4 separate regions of the Homo sapiens genome follow, and all the other regions are linked to region 2. Evidence: promoter capture Hi-C in 16 types of primary human blood cells and fetal thymus (Javierre and others, 2016). All regions are on one chromosome and are shown on one strand. The core of a region is centred on a gene start or on the middle of the fragment in contact, and the rest is flanking DNA. Distances in the headings are between cores, read along the strand shown. Region 1 overlaps RAP1GDS1 (Rap1 GTPase-GDP dissociation stimulator 1). Region 2 holds the start of ADH5 (alcohol dehydrogenase 5 (class III), chi polypeptide). Region 3 has its middle 190 kb from the start of RAP1GDS1. Region 4 overlaps TSPAN5 (tetraspanin 5).

Evidence for each region. Contacts are between HindIII fragments. The CHiCAGO score rates a contact against its expected background, and 5 or more counts as called.
Region 1: a contact is called between a fragment that was not itself captured here and the fragment with the promoter of ADH5 in region 2, in 2 of 17 cell types (activated CD4 T cells and M2 macrophages). The highest score is 5.5, in activated CD4 T cells.
Region 3: a contact is called between a fragment that was not itself captured here and the fragment with the promoter of ADH5 in region 2, in 2 of 17 cell types (non-activated CD4 T cells and naive B cells). The highest score is 5.3, in non-activated CD4 T cells.
Region 4: a contact is called between a fragment that was not itself captured here and the fragment with the promoter of ADH5 in region 2, in 1 of 17 cell types (M0 macrophages). The highest score is 6.6, in M0 macrophages.

The regions. Positions count from the first base shown.
Region 1 is chr4:98,433,006-98,436,629 of GRCh38, forward strand. RAP1GDS1 (Rap1 GTPase-GDP dissociation stimulator 1) reads left to right here. Exons shown (of 15, transcript NM_001100427.2): 13 at 931-1,057. Among named protein-coding and RNA genes, the nearest start is that of RAP1GDS1, 170 kb to the left of the region's middle. The HindIII fragment of the contact is 2,671 bases long and covers 769-3,439 here.
Region 2 is chr4:99,086,947-99,090,633 of GRCh38, forward strand. It overlaps ADH5 (alcohol dehydrogenase 5 (class III), chi polypeptide), which reads right to left and starts at 1,842. Exons shown (of 9, transcript NM_000671.4): 1 at 1,743-1,842. The coding sequence starts at 1,754. It overlaps LOC100507053 (a long non-coding RNA gene), which reads left to right and starts at 1,911. Exons shown (of 10, transcript NR_037884.1): 1 at 1,911-2,338. RefSeq lists a promoter at 1,787-3,040 and a silencer at 1,825-1,874. The HindIII fragment of the contact is 7,789 bases long and covers 1,570-3,687 here.
Region 3 is chr4:98,450,080-98,453,974 of GRCh38, forward strand. No RefSeq gene overlaps it. Among named protein-coding and RNA genes, the nearest start is that of RAP1GDS1, 190 kb to the left of the region's middle. The HindIII fragment of the contact is 5,158 bases long and covers 1-3,895 here.
Region 4 is chr4:98,475,537-98,479,315 of GRCh38, forward strand. TSPAN5 (tetraspanin 5) reads right to left here. Exons shown (of 8, transcript NM_005723.4): 5 at 3,149-3,274; 6 at 877-924; 7 at 653-769. Among named protein-coding and RNA genes, the nearest start is that of TSPAN5, 180 kb to the right of the region's middle. The HindIII fragment of the contact is 1,590 bases long and covers 1,229-2,818 here.

The DNA of each region.
Region 1 (3,624 bases), core at 854-3,353, 650 kb before region 2:
GAGATAGTACTGAGGTAAGAGAGGTTCAGTAATTTGCTCAGTCAGTGGGATTTATTGAATCCAGAGCTTGATGTCTCCTCTGTCATGGAGAGAAGACAGAGCTCTAAGCACCATGAGAAATGAGGGCAGATGGAGAATTTTAAGTTCTGCTCAGTCTTTTTGCATGTAATTCAGTTTTCATATTTGTAAGATTAAATCAAGGGGTAAAAAGTACTTAAAATTTTTTCATAAAAGCTTTACCTGGAACATCTGCAGAACAACTACCTGGCACTATCATGAAAATTTAAAAGCAACTTTTTTTTTTTTAAGAGGCAGGTTCTCACTCTGTCACCCAGGCTGGAGTGCAGTGGTGTGATCATAGTTCACTGCAGCCTTGAGCTCCCTGGCTCAAGCAGTCTCCCACCTCAGCACCCTGAGTAGCTGGGACTGCAGATGTGTGCCACCATGACTGGCTAATTTTTTTATTTTTTGTAGAGATGGGGTCTCGCTATGTTGCCAGGCTGGTCTCAAGCGATCCTCCTGTTTTGGCCTGTCAGAGCACTGGGATTAACGTCCTGAGCCACCGTGCCCAGCTGAGAACTTTTTTAAATTCCAAGTTTTATTCTTGTTTGTCAATCCTAAGGTAGGTCAACATTTAAGGCAGTGACATTTTTACTTCTTTGGCTTTGGTAGCTTCTAAGCCTTCTGTTTTTTAATATGAACTGCAGTGGTCTTTTCTACTTAGGCAATTTAAGTTGTCATCTTTTGATGAATGTATTTAAAGCTAAAAGCTTTTTCCTTTTCTTCTGTGGAGAAAAAAACTATGATTAAATCAAATGATTCATACAGGACACTGTCGCAAAACCACTCAACAATGAGTTGACTGATTTTAATGCATGTTCCTTATGTTTAAAATTAAAGTCTATAATTCTCTGATATTATTTATTGTAGGATGTAATTAAAACCATTGTGCAGAGTGGTGGCATCAAGCATCTAGTTACCATGGCAACTAGTGAACATGTAATAATGCAGAATGAAGCTCTTGTTGCTTTGGCATTAATAGCAGCTTTAGAATTGGGTAAGTACCCCAGTGACAAACTTATTTTCTTCTATTTTTATCTTGGATGAAAGGAAGTATAGAAGTGGAGTTGAAGTCAGACAGAACCTTGACTGGAAGCATTTTGCTAGTGTCTGTACCGTTCTCTGAATCTATGGAAAATCATTCTATATAGATTGTTACAGCTGTCCCCTTTGGCTGTGTTTTTGGTAACATTTTTAGGGCAATGCATTAAGGTAAGTTTAACTTTTAAATAATGTCTCAAGTTACAGCCACTTAGAGAATAGAGAAAACGTTTTCAGCAGGCTTCACAGAGAAACCAAACAATATTTAGAATATGACAGCATATGAAGAGTCTGCTACTCTCCCAGTGACCCATACTTTCTCTTCCATCTCTGCTGGTTCTCTCTACTACCGATTCTTTCTTGCTGTTCTCCTTCTCCATCACCGTGACTTCTATTGCCTTACTCTAATGTCTTGTCTTCTGTGTTACCCTTCTGTGTGTTTTGCATTCAGAACTCCCCCAAAGCAGAGGCTAAATAGGCTAAATAATTTCATTAGTTTCAGTTTAACATAGCTTTTTTTTTTTTTTTTTTGAAACAGTCTTGCTTTGTCACCCAGGAGGCTAGAGTGCAGTGGCGCAATCTCAGCTCACTGCAACGTCCGCGTCCTGGGTTCAAGCAATTCTCGTGCCTCAGCCTCCTGAGTAGCTGGGATTACAGGTGCATGCCACTGTGCCTGACTAATTTTTGTATGTTTTGTAGAGACAGGGTTTCACCATGTTGGTCAGGCTGGTCTTGAACTCCTGACCTCAAGTGATCCACCCACCTCAGCCCTCCCAAAGCGCTGGGATTACAGGCGTGATCCACCATGCCCGGCCCTAATATAGCATTTCTGTTGGGCAGAATTCATCACGAGAAGCTAATCCGTAGACATCTAGTTTATGAATAGCATAAGCTGGATGGCTTTGGAGCCAACCCAAGACAGTCAGCCAGGGATGGTGTAATAGAGTCACGTGGCCTGTGGTTAAGGCCTAAGGCTGCTTAACACAAAGGAGGACTTTACACTTAGTAGGGATGTCCTATCCAATTCAAAGCCATTTGGGTAAATACTGTTAACTGATAGCCTCTTAATTCCCACTGACAACTTAGATCCATAATTCTCACACTGGGGCGAATGGACCCTCCAACCCCAGTTCCAGGAAGAGGAAACACTCATGTGAGTATTTTTTTATGTGCATAGTGTGTAATGATCAAGTCAAGGTGTATAGGATATCTGTCTCCTTGAATGGTCTGTTGGTGACTGGAAGCCTTACCAATAACAGTCAGTGAACATATATTTTGTATATGAATTATATACTATATTCTTATAATAAAGCCAGAGAAAAGAAAATGTTAAGAAAATTGTAGGGAAGAGAAAATATATTTACTATTTATTAAGTAGAAGTGGATTATCAAGAAGGTCTTGAATCCTTGTCTTCACACTGAGTAGGCTGAGGAAGGGGAAGAACAGAAGGGGCTTAGGCTTGCTCTCTCAGGGATGGCAGAAGAGAAGAAAATCCAGGTATAATTGGACCCACACAGTTCAAACTTACGTTGTTCAAGGGTCAACTGTATATTCTTTGGTGAAATGCTGATTTTTGTCTTTTAACCATTTTTTTTTTGACTGTTGAGTTTTGAGAGTTCTTTATATATTCTAAAAATTTTGTAGTTCTATATTTTACATTTAAGTCTGTAATCCATTTTGAGTTAATATCGGTATAAGTCACGCCTGTAATCCCAGCACTTTGGGAGGCCGAGGCGGGTGGATCATGAGGTCAGGAGATCGAGACCATCCTGGCTAACACAGTGAAACCCCGTCTCTACTAAAAATACAAAAAATTAGCCGGGAGCGGTGGCGGGCTCCTGTAGTCCCAGCTACTTGAGAGGCTGAGGCAGGAGAATGGCGTGAACCCAGGAGGCGGAGCTTGCAGTGAGCCGAGATCGCGCCACTGCACTCCAGCCTGGGCGACAGAGCCAGACGCTGTCTCAAAAAAAAAATATATATATATATATATATCGGTATAAGGTACGAGGTTTAGGTTAGGGTTCATTTTCTTTGTCCCATGGATGTCTAATTGTACTAGCACCTTTCGTTGAAAAGCTGTCTTTCCTCCACTGCACTGATTTTGTACCATTGTCAAAAGTCAGTTGAGCATATATGTGTGAGTCTATTTCTGGGTCTTCCATTCAGTGCCTTTGACATAAGTGCCTATGTTGCCACCAGTAATATGCTATCTTGATTACTGTAGCTATAGAGTAAGCCTTAATACTGGATGGAGGAATTCCTCACACTTTATTCTTCTTTATCAAGATGGTTTTAGCTATTTTAGGGCCTGTGGCTTTCCATGTAAGTTTTAGTATAAGCTTGTATATTTTCTACAGAAAATCTTGCTAGGATTTTGATTGAAATTCCACTGAGTCCTTATCTTTTATTTGTGGAGGGAATTATGTGATTTATAGGATTTGCTCCAAAATAATTTGAGATGGATGACAGCAGGTGAATGAGAGAGATCGGCCATAATTCTTTAAGGTGATAAGTGCATAAGG
Region 2 (3,687 bases), core at 592-3,091:
AAAAAAAAAAAAAAAAAAGAATATGAAGTCCCTAACACAATCCTTGGCACAGCATAGCTTTGCAAAATAAGTTAGTAGTTATTGGTAGCAACAGAACAAACGGTTGAGGGAAAGGAGAGGTGAACTACATAGAGATATAAAAAATGGCCTCTGTAGGCCGGGTGCAGGGGCTCACGCCTGTAATCCCAGCACTTTGGGAGGCCGAGATGGGCGGATCACCTGAGGTCAGGAGTTGGAGACCAGCCTGGCCACTATGGCGAAACCCCGTCTCTACTAAAAATACAAAAATACCGAGCATGGTGACGGGCGCCGGTAATCCCAGCTACTCGGGAGGCTGAGACAGGAGAATCGCTTGAACCCGGGAGGCAAAGGTTGCAGTGACCCAAGATCGCGCTATCGCACTCCAGCCTGGGAAACAAAGAGCGAAACTCCGTCTGAACTGGCGGGGGAGGGGGGGGGGAGGGAAATGGCCTCTGTAAATTGGTGAGGTTGGAAATGTGGAAATGATCGTTTTTAAAATTAAATTGCAGATATTAAATCTCATAGTACAAAGAATCAGACACTGCATTAGAACCTTTTTCATTTCAATGTGCCATAAATTTCAACTCCACAAGTCAGATTCAGAATACTAACAATTAAGTTATGCAACATAGGAATCCAAAGAAACAAGAATACTAAATTTGATGGCCTGCTCCCCTTTAAAAAATGTCTTAATGGAGCCTAACCTTTTCCTTTTACTGACAATTCTAAGCAAAACAAAGCCCCACTCTAAATCCGCGGGAAATGGCCCTACTTCAACATTTGAACTATAGTAACAATTATAATCTTTCACCTTCTCTGAATAAAGACACTCAGTAATAAGGAAAAGCAACTACCAGTTTAAGTCTGAAAGACTGTTTAGAGTTTATTTCTTTCAAACTCCAATATGTTTAAGGCCATTTGTCTTACTAGAAAATGTCCAAAATTGCAAAACATTAAAATAATCAGCAACTTTAGACTGAGTATGTTATTCGTAATTTCTGCCTTTCTTTACTGTCTAATTTGTATTTTATGAATTTGTCATAGAGGAGCAGACCTGGGTCGGAATCCCAGCTCGCCATCGTTGGTGTGACCAAGCACAACCAACCTCAAACCTCAGTTTTTGGTAAGATGGGGATAACACCTCGCAGAGGTGTTTGTTACGTGAGGACTAGAGGGAATATAAATCTCTTGGTATTTAAGTGCTCGAAAATGTTTCTGAAAGGGACGTAGGGGTCTTTCCAAAATACACTCCTTGGAGGCACAATAATTAAGGCGTAGGCTCAATTATGCAACACAAGCAACCTAGGAGTTAGAAGCACGGGATCTGGCTGCAGCTCTGCCAAGTATGCAAGCTGCAAGAATGACCCAGAGCGAGTTACTTAATTTCGTGTAAGAAGCAATGCGTGGCCGCTCCTAAGCCATTTCCACTGGGATACCGACCTGACCAGCCCCTGCCCCCCACTCTCCGGCTCTCCCACCCCCCCACCCCGTTCCGACTGTCCCAGAAGCAGCAAAGAAAGCTGCTTCCCAACTGAAGAGCCGAGACAAAGCTTCCTTCTCTTTCTGCCCCTCTGAGCCGCTCGCTGGGGGCCCAGTTTCAGAACCAAGAGCCAGATCCCGTCTTGGGCGCCGAGCCTCGCGCGCCCCCGAGGATAGCAGCCTAGTCCCATGCCATGCACTCCCTCCCTTGGACTCAGGGCCCTCCGCTCAACGGGCCCTACCTCGTTCGCCATGTTCACGGATTCTGGTCGGCGCGGGGGGCTGACATCCGGGGTGGGCCGCGCAGCGACGGAGGCATGGGCGTGGCGAGCGCCTAGCGAGGGGGGCGGGGCGTGGGGGGGGCTTGCAATGGCTCCAACCGGAAGGGCGGTGCTCGAGCTGTGGTGCGTGCCGCTAAGTTGTGCGTTCCAGGGTGCACTCGCCGGCGAGGCTGCACGGCGCCGGTTTCATTGCTAAAATCCGACGGACTTGTTGCAGAACTCGTTTTTTTTGTCGGGAAAGGGCTTCCCCGTGTAACTTTACAGCAGTTATCGTAGATAAGACTTGCAAATTACAGATGTGGACGGTGAGGGAACGGGAATTTCACTGAAAGCGCCTGAGAACCAGTAAGAGACCTGCAACAGCTTTGTGCTCCACTGGCGAATGCTTCCTCCCCTAATACACATTATGTGTGCTTGGAGACACAAGGAGTAAGATACAGCCCCTCAAGGGACTCGTCATAGGGAGAGGACACAGCTTTGGGAATAAAGGGGCCACAAAGGAGGAGAGAGGAGTTTGCTGAAACTTCCCAAGCTCCCATTCCAGCAGTTCCTGAAGGGTAGGTAGGATTTTGGGGAGACAGTAGAACGTGGGCAGAGAACTTTGGAAGGAGGAGATGAGGAGAACAAAAAGTCTCCTGATCCTGGACAGTTTTTTGTGTTAAGAGTGGGCCAGAGTGTAGAGAGAGAGAATGTAGTATTTGTCGGTTTACTCTTTCTTTGTTTGTTTGAGACGGAGTCTCGCACTGTCGCCCAGGCTGGAGTGCAGTGGCGCGATCTCGGGTCACTGCAACCTCCGCCTCCTAGGTTCAAGTGATTCTCGTGCCTCAGCCTCCTGAGTAGTTGGGATCACAGGCACACGCCACCACGCTGGCTCAATTTTGTATTTTTAGTAGAGATTGGGAGTGGGGGCAGGGGGTTGGTCTCACCATGTATGCCAGTCTGGTCTTGAACTCCTAACCTCAAGTGATTCACCCACCTCAGCCTCCCAAAGTGCTGGGATTACGGGCATGAGCCACCGCACCTGGCCTGCCAGTTTACTCTTAAACTCTGTTGTAAACGCTGAATTTTGTTAAAATAGCTCTGTCAGACACACTGCTCTTTTCTGTCTTTCAGTCTTTTTCTTGGCTCTTTTCCGGGTACATATGGTAAGATTGTCCAAAGTCTTTCCGTCCTTTCACTCCACTCTCTCACTCACACTTTGGCTTTTAACGTCTATTTATGGAAAGATGACTACCAGATTATTATCTCCAATCAGGATGGCTCCCCTAAACTCCAGACTTGGACATGTAACTGCCTACTGGATTTCTGTCTCCATTAGGATATCTCACAATCGAATGCAACTCCTAAAACTCCTATTAATATTTTCTCCTTATAGGGACTCTTTCCTCTGTGTGTTGACACTCTCCACATACTTACCCTAGCCAGAAACATGAGAGTCACAACTTCTCCCTCTCCCTCGGTCCCTGCATTCAGTTTGTCACCAAGCCCTAAATATCTCTCTGGTCTTGTGCCTCTCTCTCCCCACTGCTGCTGTATTAGTTCAGGCTTTCATAATTTCTTACAGGATTACTGAAAGAGCCTCCCATCTGATTTCTTTGATGCCAGGCCCTTGAATCTAATACTTAAAAAGGAATGCCCTGTTAGTGATCTTTCCAAAACGTAACATCAATCAATGCCATTTCCTATTTTCCTTCAATAATTTTTGAATGAGTTAGGCTATAAATAAATAAATAAATAAATAAATAAATACCATTCTTCTATTTAAAAATATTCAAGGGAGAACAAATGGATAAAATCCAAACTCTTTAGGCCACTCAGGCTCTGAATTACTTCCTTCTGTATATACCTCTATCCTTATTTCCTGCTCTCCTGCCAAATTTCACACCAACATTTAAGGAACATTCGT
Region 3 (3,895 bases), core at 1,176-3,675, 640 kb before region 2:
TTGCCTCAAATATGCAGCCCTTCAGCAACGATTAGGTAGAAACCTGAGGATGAAGGCCTGTACCTTAAGGACAGTGGAACAGAAAGGTACAAAGAGCCTGGGTCCACAGGAGCATCAATAAGCTGGAGTAGCGGCCCTATGCTGAGAACCCTCATGCTGATGGCAGGAGACACACACCTGACGTTGAAATCCCTCAGGCAGGGTTTTCCATTATTTCAAATGGAATGAAATCTTGATTCATGAAGCTAGTCGTTAATGTATCAAAATCTCCCCTAGGACAATTTGTTCTGCTTAAAGGCCATGGCCACAGACCTCATGACAACAGAATCCAAAGGATTTAAACAACTGGGGCTACCAGTTTTAACCCTCAAAGTTCAAAAATACACCAAAAAGCCTGACTCTCTAACTCAACAGCCTTCCTCACTACCCAAAGATTTACTAAACACTTACTATGTCAGGCACTGTGTTGGAAGAAGATAAACATGAACCTGATTATTGAGCAAACAAGTAAGGGCTTTAACCAAGGCATGAACAGAGTTATGGGGTTCTGTAGAGGTGACTCTGGGTGCTCTGGGCATCTTGGGGCAGAGGGTACATAGGAAGGAAGGGTGGGAGCAAAAGAAAAGGCTAGGAAAATAGAGCAGAAGAGATGGCAGGAGCAGGGAGTAGACATTAGCCATTTTAACTTTGTATTATATAACGGAAAAACCAAGGTTTCTACATAAAAGATGGGTATATTTGCTTTATGTTTTGTTCTAGAATCAGAATTATTGCTAATGGGGGTGGGGCAGGCTAGCAGAAAGGAAATTAATAGGTAATTGTGATGAATTCCTGATGTTGAGAGACAATTCTCGATGGGTATCTTGTATTTCCATACCTCTGTGAAAGACAGCTTCAGCTTTTTCTTTTTAACTACCTTTTCAAGGATCTTTATATGCCAAATAGCCTTGTAAGATAGAGACAGTGTCTCCCTGGGACAGGCAGATTTATTTTTACTGTACAGAAATCAAGATAAGGTCTCCCTCGGGGGCAAAGTTTGGTCAGGATCACTTGCAGGCCCCTTTATGAGACTGGGGTTTCCTAAACTCAGTTCCTTCGCTGGGGCATAAACCTGCTGTGTGTGAAGTATCCATCTGGGCCACTGTTCCCTGTCGGACTTGGGAAGCAAGAGAAACTACTGCAAACATGAGATTCATTTTACCAGGGGTGCATGCATAATAAAGTCCTTTCAGTCTGACCCAGGAGTCTCAGGCCTTCTCTCAGCATCTATGTACCTGTGGCAGGCTAACTTGTTAGCTTGCAAGGAGGGTAAAATCTCAAACACTTCACAATTGTTGATGCCTAAACTAGGATTTTTAGAGAGGAAGGGTCTGGGATACTTTTATGGAGCTAGAGATTGGAAAAGAAGATCATTCTGAAGTATCTGAGTTGGGTGACTGGGCAGAAGATGGTGGTGATGTTAACTAAAAGGAGGAACACAGAAAGGAAAGTGGGTTCCTGTAAAATGAGTTGGCTTTGACACATTTGGTTGGAGATGCCTAGAGGATCTTGAGGAGGAGATAGGCAAGTGGACACGTTCTTATTCCAGCTGAGCCATGAGTACAGGGGTTGCTCCATAAACAAACTGAGCCCCGCAGGCCTCAGTGCTCCCTTTGGCACTTCCTAAACTCACACATCATTGTGTTGCCTCAGGGTCCCCAGGAAACACCAACAATAGATCCATTTTTTTAAAAAGTTTGCTTAAATTAGTCAGACATGGTGGTGTGTGCCTGTAGTCGCAGCTATATGAAAGGTTGAGGTGGGAGGATTGTTTGAGCCTGAAAGGCAGAGGTTGCAGTGAGCCGTGGTCATGCCACTGTACTCCAGACTGGGTGACAGAGCAAGACCCTGTCTAAAAAAAAAAAAAAGTGTGCTTTTCCCAACACTTAGGGAATCAAATCCCTGGAACTGGGGCCTGGGTATCTGAATTTTTTTAAAGCTCCAAAGGTGATTCTGATCTGCAGCCAGAGTAGAAAAACGCCAGCTAGAACCAAGGGCAATGAAATGATACTTTGCTTAAAGTCCTCAGAGTGTGGCCTGGCCAACAAGAGTCCTCACCTTGTTTGGTCAAGTAGGTAGCCATTTCCTGAATTGATACCCCAGGATTTTTGTTCAACGTCCATCCTTTTTGAGGCCACTGAGTTCTGACTCAGAGACTAATAATCACTTGCCAAGTAAAGCACCATACTTAAAGAGATCAGATATCCTGAGCCACCCAGCTCCCAGATGTTGCTGTAAAGGAGACATTATATCCCAGGATGGTTCAGAGATTTTTCTGCTCCCCTAAACTTTCTGGAATCCTGCCTGACACATCCTCTGGATTAATCATCAGGATACCCTCATGCCCAGCATATGGGGCATAGCCCCGGACACAACCATCCCCTACCCCCATCATCCTTATGAAAAGCATGTTCTCTCAGACATCCAAAGTCTTTTGCTGATAGTCTGAGACTTTGAGCTCTTAGAGAAGGCAGAGGGGATGGTCGTGTGCTTGGTTAGCTCATAGCCTTTCTCCTTAGCTTTCCAAGTGCCCATGTGTACCTCATAGCCCTTCCATGTGCTGGCATGACTTCCTCCTATCTTGAAAAGGCTTTTCTCTCCATATGATCATGTCACCAGCAAACAGCAACAGTGTGGCTTCCTCTTTACCAATTTGGATGCCCTTTATTTCTTTCTCTTGCCTAATTGCTCTGGCTAGGATTTCTAGCACTATGTTGAATAGAAGTACTGGAAGTAGGCATCCTTGTCTTGTCCCAGTTCTCAGGGGGAATGCTTTCAACTTCTTCCCATTCAGTATAATGTTGACTGTGGGTTTGTCAGGATGGCTTTTATTACCTTAAGGTATTTCCCTTCTATGCCAATTTTGCTGAGGGTTTTAATCATAAAGGATGCTGGATTTTGTCAAATGCTTCTTCTGCATCTATTGAGATGATCATGTGATTTTTGTTTTTAATTCTGTTTATGTGGTGTATCACACTTTTTGACTTGCATATGTTAAGTATGCAGGGATGCAGAATACATCCCTGGTATGAAAACCACTTGATCATGTTGGATTATCTTTCTGATATGCTGTTGAATTTGGTTAGCTAGTATTTTCTTGAGGATTTTTACATCTACGTTTATCAGGGATATTGGTCTGTAGTTTCCTTTTTTGTTATGTCCTTTCCTGGTTTTGGTATTGGGGTGATACTGGCTTCACAGAATGACCTAGGGAGGATTCCCTCTTTCTCTGTGTTTTGGAATAGTGTCAATAGTATTGGTACCAAATCTTTGAATGTCTAATAGAATTCAGCTATGAACCTGTATGGTCCTGGACTTTTTTTTTTTTCTTGGTAACTTTTTATTACCATTTATCGCTGCTTGCTATTGGTCTGTTCAGAGTTTTTATTTCTTCCTGGTTTAATCTAGGTGAGTTGTATATTTCCAGGAATTTACCCATCTCCTTTAGGTTTTCTAGTTTATGTGCATAAAGGTGTTCTTAGTAGTCTTGAATTATCTTTTGTATTTCTGTGGTATGGATTATAACATCTCCCATTTCATTTCTAATTGAGCTTATTTGGATCTTCTCTCTTCATGGTTAATTTCACTAATGGGCTATCAACTTTATTCATCTTTTCAAAGAATCAGCTTTTTGTTTCATTTACCTTTTGTATTTTTTTGTTTGTTTGTTTCAATTTCATTTAGTTCCGCTCTTTGTTATTTCCTTTCTTCTGCTGAGTTGGGGTTTGGTTTGTTCTTGTTTCTGTAGCTCCTTGACATGTGACCTTAGATTTTCTATTTGTGTTCTTTCAGATTTTTTGACATAGGCATTTAATGCTATGAACTTTCCTCTTATCACCCACCACCTTTGCTGTAT
Region 4 (3,779 bases), core at 774-3,273, 610 kb before region 2:
CATGTTTGACTCAGTTGCCACAATGCAGTATTTTTGAGCCCATGTAAACGATGGAATGCCAGTAGGCAACCACTATCTAATTAATGTCTCCATCTTAGAAAAAGACAAGGTTTCCTAAAGTATTTCATGATAGTAGCATCTAAACTCAGAGCTTTAATAAAACACAAATCAGGCCAGGCACGGTGGATCACTCCTGTAATCCCAGCACTTTGGGAGGCCGAGATGGGCGGATCACGAGGTCAGGAGATCGAGACCATCCTAGCTAACACGGTGAAACCCCGTCTCTATTAAAAATACAAAAAAATTAGCCGGGCGTAGTGGCGGGCACCTGTAGTCCCAGCTACTCGGGAGGCTGAGGCAGGAGAATGGCATGAACCCAAGAGGCGGAGCTTTCAGTGAGCCAAGATCATGCCACTGCACTCTAGCCTGGGCGACAGAGCAAGACTCCATCTCAAAAAAAAATTAATAAATAAAATAAATAAATAAATGAATAAAATAAAACACAAACCAAATCGTTTAGGTCTGTTCCTCAGCCCTCCAATGTGTCTTAAAAACTATGACAATCAAGGTTTTTAAGCAAAGCTCCGATCCTGGCAAGGGCTCTCCCAGGGCATTATTTCCCTGTGATATCCATAAAGGACCCTTATCTTACCTGCAGCAATGCAATGCCTATGAAAATACCAGCAACGATGGTTAAATTGTCCTGCAACCACTTCTCAAACTGGGGCACACAGCCTTTCGTGTAGATTACAATCTGCTGGTCAACTTCCTTCACAAGAGAAGAGGAGAGCACATTGTCACAGATAGAGCACCAGGCACAGGCCAAAGCTCCTCCAACACCCTTCGTGCTAAGCAACAACATGAGATTCCACTTACTGGTTTTTGCCTGGCATCATAGCCACACTGAGTGTTGATGACATCTTCCTGGTGAAGAAAGGAAAGAGAAAAGTGAAATTTACTCATTAGACAGAAAGCCCACCTAGAAATGAGCAGAAGACTTCTGTTACGCATTAGTAATAAAATGTGTATCTGGGCACAAAGACTGCAGCACTATGTTAAACACTTTATATACATGATCCCATGTCATTATTGCGACAATCTTCAGAAGTAGGTATTAAAATATGCCCTATTTTACAAATAAGGAAAACTAAGGCTTGGGGAATATCAGAAAAGACAGCAAGTCTATCACACAGGAGGCTCAAGATTCAAAGTGGTGCCAACCTCAAGAAGCTTATGGGATTTAGGGAACTGGAGACACAGATAAAAAACATAAAGGGCACAGTGAATCTTCATGTATGCTCTTTTGGATGGACTGCTACTTTTTAATCTATGTACTTCCATGTTACTTAAATTGTTTTTCAATGAGCTTTTAATAATTAAAAAACAAAACAATGCCCCGACCACATAATCACACAGACAACCTGACGTCTCACAGGGTCTGATCAGAAACATGGTTCCACTTTTTCGGGTTGTTTATTTTCCTTCTCTGCGGGGTGTGGGGCAGATTTTATTAGCTTAGAGCGCAAGGAATGAGCTAGCTCTGCCCAGAGGATCTGTAGGTGAAAGGGGAAGCATTAATGCCTCTGAGAATACAGAATTCTCCCAAGGGAGTGTTAATGTGGGACAGGAACTGGCGACAGGAGGCGCACTGTGCGGCACCCGCTGGCCAGTGCAAGGCCACCAGGATGAGCCCCTCAAGCTCTGAGTGGGCACTCTGCTGCCATGTGGCTCTCCTCAGAAGGGAGAGGAGGTTTGAGCTGGTGGGAAGGGCAGCTGGCGGGGCAGCACAGTCCTTAGTGACTTTGTCTCCTCTTTCAGACCAAGAGAAACAGCTGAGGTGGTCCCCTGGAGGAAGCCCACAGGGAAGTTCTGCTTTTCCACTCCAAGACCATAGCTCCTTTTAAGAGCCCCACAGCCTCCACCATAAGAAGGAGCATCCCCACTGAGCTCATCAGCACCCACTCGGCTCTGCTTCTGAGGGGTAAGGGCGAGCCTTGGGGAGTACATCTGGAGACTGCAGGGCCAGAGAACAGTTGAGGAGTCCCAGAAGGGTTCTGCAGCTAGGAGCACACAGAGATGCGTGGAGTAACCTCTCATGTTTGTCATTCTAACACTAGAGAGTTACCTTTTTTTTTTTTTTTTAAGAATTGTGGTCTCACTCTGTCACCAGGATGGAGGGCAGTGGCATGATCATGGCTCACTGCAGCCTCAAACTCCTGGGCTCAAGTGATCCTGTTTCAGCCTCCAGAGTAGATGGGACCACGGGTGTGTGCCACCACACATGGCTAATTTTTTAATTTTTTTGTAGAGATGGGGTCTCACTATGTTGCTCAGGCTGGTCTTTAACTCCTGGGCTCAAGGGATCCTCCCACCTCAGCCTGCCAAAGTGCTGGGATTACAGGTGTGAACTACTATGCCTGGCTTAAGAATTGCATTTTAAGTCATTCTATATACCAGGCACGATTTGACACAAAATATAATCAAACCTGTGGCAAAAGTGAGTGACTTACAAATAGATTTTATATTTTATTCTTTTTTATAATAAAATGCAAACTGCATGACTATAGTCATGATGACATTCAGGAGTCTGGGCAGCTGTGGTCTTCCTACACAGCAGTCCAGGCCTATCTTGTCTCAAACTCTCCTCCTACTCCTAATAGTTCCCCTAGAACTAAGCCAAAAAGAAAAGGGTTACTAACCCCAAACCAATGCAGAGAGCTCTCATATGAGCCTGCCCTTCTCATGAAGAAAGGCTAACAGATGATACAGGCAAGTTGCCTGGGTCTCATATTCCACTCCATTGCCTGCTAGCAGTGCAAGCTTGGGAAAGTCACTTACACCTCATGTGCCTTGATTTCTTCCCCTGAAAAGGGAGGGTAATGGTGGTATCTGCCAGTAGGAATGTGCCCAACTTAAATGAGCCAACACACATAAAGGCTTAGAATAGGAACCAGCACACACTGCTAAATTAATGCCAGCAATTATTACTCCTACTAGGAAGATTTGAGCACCATAACCCCCTACAGGAGCTACAAATACGAGTAACCAGGTAAGAAGAGGGTTCAACCAAAAAATCACTCTGCTCGTCCCATGCACACTCTCGGCATGATGTACAGAGTAGGCCAATAGTTCGCTGGCATTCACTTACTGCGGGATCTTTAGTGCAGCAGGAGAATGGAACGCCACATCGCTCTCGACTTGCATTGGAATCTGTGCAATTGAAGTAAATATTTAGGTTCCAATCATCAGCTCCAAAAGCCCCACAGCACTGCCACTAGAGCAAACAGGAAAGAATTAGAACATCCCAACTTGGAGGCAAGCAGTCACCTACACTCACACCCGCCGAACGACACCAGCTTCTGCCAGCTCTGACCTTCTTTTCTGTCCTAGACTTTATTTTTAAGCCAAACTGAACCTAAATGGCCCATATAAAATCTTCCAAATTAATTAGGGCTGAAGGTTTGTAGGGATGTGTTGGCACGTGATTTAAACAACTGATGAGACCTGTGGTGTTAGGTGGAAGAAGGGCAGAGCAGCTGTACAGCAGGGCTCAGTTAGAACAAGATCTGTTTGGCTTGGGCACGTCATTCTAGAAGGAGAAACAAGAACATTCTAGAAGGGTAAATAAGACACTAACGACAGTGGTAGTGACTGAAGGAGGCAACTGGGGTTATGGGTGGGCTAACTATAGCTTACTTTTTCAAAGTTTTGATCTCTACATTCTAATAGTTTTTTTAAAGATCTGTTTTGTTTTATGGAGCGCAGGGAGACCCCCTGAA